Regions from separate parts of the Homo sapiens genome. Here region 1 is linked to region 2. Evidence: promoter capture Hi-C in human tissues and cell types (Jung and others, 2019). All regions are on one chromosome and are shown on one strand. Each heading gives the region's core, a stretch centred on a gene start or on the middle of the fragment in contact. The rest is flanking DNA. Distances are from core to core; before and after follow the strand shown. Region 1 overlaps LOC107984005 (a long non-coding RNA gene). Region 2 holds the start of ANKRD46 (ankyrin repeat domain 46).

Evidence for each region. The method cuts DNA at HindIII sites, captures the fragments that hold promoters and counts their contacts. A contact is called where the count stands out against the background at its distance.
Region 1: a fragment that was not itself captured here is called in contact with the fragment with the promoter of ANKRD46 in region 2 in 3 of the 25 tissues and cell types used here (heart right ventricle, mesenchymal stem cells and spleen).

What each region holds. Positions count from the first base shown.
Region 1 is chr8:101,278,335-101,283,253 of GRCh38, reverse strand. All of the region lies in intron 4 of LOC107984005 (a long non-coding RNA gene), which reads right to left. Among named protein-coding and RNA genes, the nearest start is that of LINC02844, 18 kb to the right of the region's middle. The HindIII fragment of the contact is 4,866 bases long and covers 1,150-4,919 here.
Region 2 is chr8:100,557,354-100,561,840 of GRCh38, reverse strand. ANKRD46 (ankyrin repeat domain 46) reads left to right here and starts at 2,082. Exons shown (of 5, transcript NM_001270377.2): 1 at 2,082-2,130. RefSeq lists enhancers at 1,779-1,918, 1,886-2,180 and a silencer at 1,919-2,088. The HindIII fragment of the contact is 6,170 bases long and covers 1-4,487 here.

The DNA.
Region 1 (4,919 bases), core at 2,333-4,832, 720 kb before region 2:
GGACCCAGCTCTATAATGGTCCTAGGTACTAGGGGTACAGCTCCTGCTTTGGTAGTAAGTCTTTTGGGCAGGAATTCTGGGAGGAGATGATAATTCAGGGTGTCTTAAAGTTGAATGGGAACAAACCTGGATCCTGCCTGCAACTCAGGCCAGAAAAAATGAGGAAGGTCATTCCAGGCAGAGGCAGCTCCCTTTGGTCTGCTTCAGACTTCAGCCTCAGCCACGATGGGCTCAGACCCAACAGTGCAGCACCCACCTCAGGTTACACCATGCAGCCTTCTGATTTCTGCCTCTAGGGCTTCTTGCAAGCAAGGCCTGCAAGCTGGGGGAGGTTACATCCAGAGGCATCTCTCAGTGAAAGGGGATAGGAGCTGGCAGATAACCACTCCAGCCTCCCATCATTTGGAGGCATTGTGTCTGCTTCTGAGGGCTTGGTGGAATCCCTCACCCTGTCCTCCAGCAGTGACCATGCACACACAGATTGGCTGTTCCTCCTCCCTGTCTCACGGTCCCCACTCTCTTATACCTGCCTCTAGGATCACCCCTCAAATGAACTGTTTGCATCCAAATCTTTGTCTCAGCTCTGCTTCTGTGAGGGTCCTAATTAAGACAATAACAGGGGTAAAGATACAAAGTCAAGGGCCTGTGTACTTTGGAAGGAGAGCATGGAAGATACTAGAGGCCAGCTTGTTTTACTGGTATGGAAAGGTGCCAGTAGGTTGTTGAGAGTCCAGATTGGTAGCCAGAGGGGCCAGATCACAGGGCCACTGTGTGCCAGGTAGAGATCTTAGCTCTGTCTTGTAGGCTGTCGGGAGCCACTGAGAAGCCAAGGGGGTCAGAGGGCAGCCAAGAAGTGAAGTGACCTTCTCAGAGTGCCTTCTCCAAAGATGGCTCTGCTAGCTGTTTGGAGGGTAAATTTGAGGGGGCAAGGCTGGGGGCTTCAACATATATTAGGAGGCCACTGCAGTGGTCCAGGTAAGTGCCAGAAAGAACCTGAACTAGCAAGGTAGGCTGCAGATGGAGGAGATGGAGTCAAGAAATGGAGGTGAAGTTCATCTGCGGTGACTAACTCATCGCTGTTTCCCCAGGACTTTCCTGACTTTTGCACTGAAAGTCCCACATCCTGGGAAATTCCTCAGTCCCAGGAAAACTGGGATGATTGGTCACCCTAAATTCCATAGACTGGTTTGACTAAATCGTGGCAAGGGGTGAAGGGAAAGGGAGGAATCAAGAAGGGCAGGTGCAGTGGCTCACGCCTATAATACCAGCACTTTGGGAGGCAGAGGTGGGAGGGTTCTTTGAGCCCAGGAATTTGAGACCAGCGTGGGCAACATAGCAAGAACCTATCCTAAAACAAATATACATTTTTAAAGGAATTAATTTTCTATTTCAGGCTTAAGTAATTGGGGGAAGGGGTTGCCATCACCTGGGACAATGAACACAAAAGAAGCTGATCTTGAAGATAAGATGATGCAGTCGGTTTGGGACAGTAGAATTGGAAGTATCTTTGGGACTTATAGACAGTCATGAAGAGCAGTATTTTGGATTTATTGGGTGTTAGAAGGAACTGTGAGAGTGGTCGACATCATTCCTGGAAAGCCGCAGGATAATGTACTGTGACTAGGAATTCGTTTTCCTTAATGAGTGAAACATCCATGTCCCTGGAATACTGATTTTAAAAATTATGACCATTTCCTGAGATGGTTATGAGGGCTACTCTGATAGAAAACAGTATCCCATGAATGTTTAGAGTTTGTTTATCAAAGCAGCTATGTGTCACTTAGCAGGGCACAGAGCCCTGAACACAGGGAAGGTCTCATGGCATATCCCAGAAAAGTTGAAAACACAAGTCTCCCTGCCTGGGGGAGCTGTCCCCCATGGAATAGGAGGGTTACACTCACCGCCAGGGAGTGTGATGTGAGCAGACCCCTGGGAGGTGGGAGGAAGGCACCAAAAGCAGGGGGGACTTGGAGAAAATGAATGGAAAGTGTTTGACGCCCAGCTTGGCAGGTACATCCGGGGCCTCACCACTGAGTCCTTCACTAATCCGCCCATGACAGGATCTGGTGGTTCTGGCTTAAACCATGATTTACCTTGTTAAATCTTCTCTCTAGTAGCTGCTCACATTGTATAACAACCCTGAGATTCTTTCTTTGGCTTTCTGGGGACCCATAAGCAAGCCAAGGTAATAAACACAATTATAATGGTTAATATAGTTGATTACTTTCTACTTGACACTCTTCTAACTACACACATTAACTTGTTTAATCCTTATAGTAACCTGCCAGATAAGTACTTTCATTACCATCTTCATTTTTACAAATGAAGAAATTGAAGCATAAAGAGATTAGGCAGCTTGCCAAAGTCACTTAGCTGGTGTGTGACAGAGCTGGTGCGTGACTGACACAGCCTTGCTGAATACGGAGTTGGATGCACACGGTGGGCTTGAGATCCCGCACGCCCCAGCTCCAGCGCATCTCCACCCACAGCCCCTGGCCCCCACCACCTCTGCCATCGCAGTCCAGCCTGGAAAGCAGCCTGCAGTCTCAGGTAAAGCAGGATTTTCTCCTGCCTCCAAACACCAGCCCCTGCCCTTCCATGCCTCTAGCTGATGTCCAGGTGTCCCTGACTTCTTCAGCTGCTTTTCAAGAACTCCCTGGCCCCCTCCTTCTTCTTTCATTTTAAACTAACAAATGAGTACATCAATATCCTTTGCTCTTCTGCAGAAAGCATGTTTGTCCTTTTCAGAGAGTTCTATGCTCTGCTGATCTTGACCAGGAGTTGTGGGACCTGGGTTTAACACACAGCATTGTCTTTTACTCTGTGTTTCTGGCTGCCTCCCTTCTTTGGGTCTCTCTGGCTTTCCACGTCTGAAAAATTAAGTTAACTTGATCAGTGATTTTCAACTTAAGAAGGAGCATAGAGAAGGGAGTATCAGAACTGTGGGATACAGAGAGGGCAGGACTACCCATTGTGTGCTCCAGGCTATTCCTAATCACTTTTATCACAATGTACCTGTCCTATGTCCCCTTCTCCCAGGGCTATGCCCTCTAGATGACAGAAAACAAACCTGACAGCTACCATCACGACCCCCTGAGATCCCCATGTGACACTCCCCACCCTACCCCACCGCAGTCCAGATCACCACTGTAGAAGGCTCTTTCTGCTGATAGGAAGGTGGCTCAACCCTTTAGAGTGTTGCACGGGGGAAAGAAAGACTGTGAATCACTCACTGTTCCAGATGATCTTTGGCACACGGCAATGCTTATGTTCTATGAGACTATGATTTCTGTACAATGCCAGTGTGAACAGCTGTTACCTCCTTATCACTTATGCTGCAGAGCAAAGGAAGAGATAATTAGTCTTTAAAAGATGGAAGAAACAGGGGAGGTTGGAGGACAGATAGAATGTGCCAGTGGGTCATGTCATGAGCCACGTAAATGTGTTCCACCATAGTCATCTGGAACACTCCATGTCACCTGTTGCTCTGGGCTATCTGAGAAAGGAGGTAGGTGCCACTTTCCCAGCCCCAGTATAGAGATGTCTTAAGACTCATGACGTCCCACAGCTCCTGTCATTCAGGAACTCTGCCCTGATAGATCTCCCCAGAGAAGGCTTCCCCTGTACCTTCCTTCTTTCAAACCACTGATGTAATCTGTCTCTCTGTTTCTCCATTGCTGTGGGTTACCAACTAGTCAGGTCAAGTCAATACAAGCATTTATGGAGCATCCACAGGTCTATAATTGGTACCCAATGGGGAGCAGGGGAAGAGGGGACAAAAAACAAGTAAGCTTCAGCCCTGCTCTCAGGAAGCTCACAGTCCAGTCTACATACCCACTCGACACAACTTTTTTTTAACTTTTATTTTAGATTCAGGGGATACCTGTGCAGATTTGTTACATGGGCATATTACATGATGCTGAGGCTTGGGCTATGAATGATTCCATCACCAGGTACTGAGCTTAGTACCTGACAGCTGGTTTTTCAACCCTTGCCCCCCTCCCTTCCTCCCTCCTCCCCCTAGTCATCCCAGTGTCTATTTTTGCCATCTTTATGTCCACAAGTACTCAATGTTTTAGTTCCCACTTATAAGTAAGAATATGTGATATTTGGTTTCCGTTCCTAAGTTAGTTCGCTTAGGATAATGGCCTCCAGCTGCATGCATGTTCCAGCAAAGGACATAATTTCATTCTTTTTAATGGCTGCATGGTATTCCATGATGTATATGTGCCACATTTTATTTATTCAGTCCACTGTTGGTGGGCATCCGGATGGATGCCATGTCTTTGTTATGGTGAATAGTGCTGTGATGAACACGTGGGTGCCGGTGTCTTTTTGGTACAACGATTTATTTTCCTCTCGGTACATACCCAGTAATAGGACTGCTGGGTCGAACTGTAGTTCTATTTTTAGTTCTTTGAGAAATCTCCAAATTGTTTTCCACAGTGGCTGAACTAATTTACATTTCCACTAACAGTATGTAGGCGTTCCCTTTTCTCCACAGCCCTGCCAGCATATGTTATTTCTTGACTTTTCAATGAAAGCCATACTGACTGGTGTGAGCTAGCATCTCATTGCCATTTTGATTTGCATTTCTCCGATGATTAGCTATGATGAGCATTTTTTCATATCTTTGTTGACCACTTATACATCTTCTTTTGAGAAGTGTTTGTTCATGTCCTTTGCCCACTTTTTTATGGGGTTATTTGTTTTTTCCTTGTTGATTTGTTTACGTTCCTTATAGATTGTGAACATTAGGCCTTTGTCAGATGCATAGTTTGTGAATATTTTCTTCTATTCTGTAGGTTGTCTGTGTACTCTGTTGATAGTTTCTTTTGCTGTACAGAAGCTCTTAGGTTTAATTAGATCCCATTTTCAACACAACTCTTAAAGGAGAAAAGAGAACAGAGAGAATAAAC
Region 2 (4,487 bases), core at 833-3,332:
GAACTCACGCGCTCTCATGAGAACAGCATAGGGGAAACTGCCCCCATGATTCAATTATCTTCACCTGGTCCTGCCCTTGACATATGGGTATTATTATAATTCAAGATGAGATTTTGGGCAGGGACACAGCCAAACCATATCAGCTCCTAACAGCCACTGTGTCAAAGTGCCCAGGTGTGGTAACATGAAGGAGCCATAGAATATGTGCAGCATGCAGTTCACTTTAATCTCATCAGAGAAAAAAGCTGTCTTCACCATCCCTACATTTTTTCATATCAATCAAAAGCAGTAATTCATGAAGAGGAAGAGATAAATTTGAATAGAAGTAATGGAGAGGCTCTCAGATTGTTGGATGAGTCAACTAATGAAGAGTAAATCTTATTAATACATTGGGAAAAGCTTTAATTTCCTTGCTAATTTGTCATAGTTTATAGGCATCAGTGAAGATATTATAAACTCAATACACAACCAGAAGGAGGACATCAATAACAAACTGATTAATAAATGTCATCAATTTAACAAGTAATATTGCTGATTAGTCATAGCACAATAAAATGTGAAATGCCCTAAGATCTTATAACTTTTTTTTTTTTGAGATGGAGTCTTGTTCTGTCACCCAGGCTGGAGTGCAGTGGTGAGATCTCGGCTCATTGTGACCTCCGCCTTTTGGGGTTCAAGGATTCTTGTGCCTCAGCCTCCTGAGTAGCTGGGATTACAGGTGTGCAACACCGTGCCTGGCTAATTTTTGTATTTTTGTAGAGCCAAGGTTTCACCATGTTGGTCCGGCTGGTCTCGAACTCCTGACCTCAAGTGATCTGTCCACCCCAGCATCCCAAAGTGCTGGGATTACAGGTGTGAGCCACCGTGCATGGCCAGATCTTATAATTCTTACATGAAAGAAATGTAATAGTGATTTCCTCTAATATGACAATAGTCCTAAACCTTTACATGACACTTTCAAGAACAAATTATTAGATGGTGTAGGTGGTCCTTGAATGAATGAACCATGAGATACCCTAGAGCAGGGGTGTCCAATCTTTTGGCTTCCCTGGGCCACATTGGAAGAAGAATTGTCTTGGGCCACACATAAAATACACTAACACCAGCAATTGTTGATGAGCTAAAAAAAAATTGCAAAAAAAAAAAAACTCATAATGTTTTAAGAGAGTTTATTAATTTGTGTTGGGCTGCATTCTAAACTGTCTTGGCTGCATGCAGCCTGCAGGTGTGGGCCAGGGGTTGGACAAGTTTGCCATAGAGCGTGGCTTGGTTGGATGAGGGTGCTAGAATTCAGAGGACGGTCACTGTGCAGTGAGAGTTGTCTTGGCTGTAGGACTGGAGTTGGTAAAATGAAAAAAAGAAAAAACTAGTTTTGCATGAAAGAATGTTTCCAGCATATGAATGTCCCACCACACTTTTAGTTAGTCTTGGCTGTACATGTTGCAATAAGTCAAGGAACCCTACAAAGTAGGATGGAAGGATTCAAACTGCGAATCGCTTGAACCCGGAAGGCGGAGTTGGAGTTTGCAGTGAGCCGAGGTTGAGCAACTGCACTCCAGCCTGGGCGACAGAGTGAGACTCCGTCTAAAAAAAAAAAAAAAAAAAAAGATTCAAACTGCTTTTGAAAAAAGTAAAAATGCAGGGTTATATTTTAGAAATAGTGCAGCCAATCATTAGTGGCTATTCCTAATATGTCAATTTCGGGTCTATAGAAGACCTACCTAGAGGCCAGCAACTATTAATTGATGCTTATAGCACCTAATGAAACTGCCCTTGCCTTTGAAGCCCCCATTTAGCTAAGGGGATGGGATGTGAATTTAGAATAGGACGTGAAAAGTGCAAAATGCTCCCGGACTCAGATCGGATAAACCTCTTCTAGGCTGTCTTTCTCTTCTGAAGCCACAGTTTTGATGCTTTCCCTAATTCAGAGCAGGCTTTCCCGGAGTCTCTGACTCAGAGCAGCCCGAGCCACCGTGAGGACCGCCCACCTGCAGGGGGCGCGCCGGGGGCTGCAGCGCGAGACCGCTCTGGCCCAGCGGGGACTCCGACTACCCCTGTCTGGCCCCTCCCCTCCGCCCGTCACCGCCTCCTTGAAGCTGCCGCTGTCGCTGCTGCTCGTTCGAGTCGCAGGTACTTGGCCCGGGGCCTGTGGGCAGCGCCTGGGCTAGAGCCACTTGATATCTCCTGCACCGTCCCTGTAGCACTGGAGGTCCAGTAGGCCTGGCCGGGGCCCTGAGGGGCGAGGGTGCCCGGGCTTCCCACACCTTCCGCGGCGACTGGAGGGAGCCGGGCCGAGGAAGCGACCGCGGGTCCGTGATGGCTTCTTCGCGGTCTGTGTGTTCACGAGGGCCGGGCAGAGGCCTGCGAGGGTTCTCGTTTGCGCTTGCGGGTTAGGGCTGTGGTCCGGGGAACCCCTGGGCAGCGCGGGCAGCCCTGGCTCGCGGTTAATCGGGGGGTGGAGCGCGGAAGCCACGCCGCAGGTCCAGCTGCTCGGCCGGGGCGAGACGGTGCTTTCGCGGCGTGTGCTTGCAGGAGCGCACAGTTCAGGCGCCGGGACAAGCTGTTGGGGTGTGAGTGAGCTCTCCAGAATGGCACATGGCTCCGGGGTGCCCGGGTTAAAAGGAAGGATTTGCACACCTTCCACTTAGGGCTCGGGTAATCGCAAACTTCCTCCCTTAATTGGCTTGCAGTGCTAAAAAGCAGATCGTTCTCTCTGAGGTTTTCCCAACAGTACCTCAAGAAAATAACATCTGTTTTTTGTAACGTTCCACGGTATTCGGAATTGGCTACAGAACATAATAAGGTAAAAATATGCCATTGAATAGTAGCGCTTCTCAATCTTTAAAAAATGACGGTGGTACCTAGGAGCCTCTTAAAGAGCTGTAATATGAGTGGTGTGGGGATTATTTTTATGTTCTAGTAATAGCTATTTTCAGTGCTTATTTTATGTCAGACACGGTGCCATTGCTTTAAATACCTGGTACCTTTAATCCTTGAAGCAACCCTATCAGGTACCATTTCCATTATACAGATAAGGAAACTGAGGCACCGAGAGTCTGACTTCTCCAAGGTCAGAAAGCTAGCAAAGGCTGAGCGAGATTTGGTCTCATCTCCCTTACTTCAGTATCCCTGCGTCTGTTATCTAGCCAAACATGTAGCGCTGTCTAAGAGTTTTATCAATTAGATTTGTAGCCTGAACTGATTTCTCTCAGGCTTAGTTTTCATGGTTATATGCAGGAGTCCTACATGAACTCCTTTTTAGTTTAAAAGGAGTTTAGTAAGAAAACTGTTAGCTCATTAAGGACTATAGTGATAATAAAGTTAAACTTGGACTGGGGTTCTCACTGTGCCAGTACAATTTGATTTGAAATAGAGATGAATTTGTTTGGTTGTTAACACACTTTATTACATTTCTTCATTATTTATGTTTCCATACCATTTTTTAGTGAGTTCACTTTGCCTTTGCATTATTATGGTAGCAGTACCAGAGGGAAATCAAAGATTTTTTGATGATAGTAAGTTAATATTTTACAGAATACAGGAAAGGCACTGGAGAGAGGATGTGAAGTGATAAGGAATTTTTGGCATGTTATATAAATTGTGTTACTATGGAAAACAAAGGATTCTCACAGTTCTTTATCAAAAGGGAAATTGTATTTCCCATTGTGGAAATAAGTTGGGCTTTATAGTCCCAAACTTCTTAGCCTTACCTATTATAGATTTAAGAATTTGCATATTCGGCATTCATATAGCAAGCGTATATTGAGTGCCTTCTATGGCCAGGCTCTGTTCTAAGCACTGGGGGATGTGAGAGTGAACAAAATGAAGTCCTTGTCTTCCAGGAGCTAACATGTCACTGGAGGAAGGTGGGGTTGGGGACGATAAGCGGGATTTGTGAAAGTTAACGTATCTGGAGTCAGATGGTAACAGTTACTAGGAATAAAAATAAAGTAGCAAAGGGGGATAGGAAGCACCAAGGAAGGAACAGGTGCAGTTTTAAAATAAGGACTGGTGCCATGGAAAAGACTCAAGCAAAACTGAAGGCGTTGGGGACCGCCATGCAGCTGTCTAGGGAAAGAGCATACCAAGCAAGGGCAAAAGCCCAGAACCCTTCAGTCTTGTTAGAGGGACAGCAAGAGAGGAACAGCAAGGAGGCCAGTAGATTTGAGCACCTGGAGGGAAGGAGGGTGAGACAAGGTCAGAGAGCTAATGGGCCCAGGTAAGGACTTTTGCTTTTACTCTGAGTGAGAAGGGAGGTGTTTGGAGGGTTTTGAGCAGAGGAATGAGGGGATCTGGCTTAAGGTTTTTAAAGGATCACTCTGGCTGCTGTGTTCAGTGTTGACTGTAAGGGCAAGGATGGAAGCAGGGAGACCTGTTAGGTTGATGCAGTAATTGAAGCCAGAGAGAATGGTGGCTTAGACCAGGTGGGTAGTAAGAGAGGCAGTAAGAAGCCGTCGTATTCTGAGTATTGCTGATAGGATTTGCTT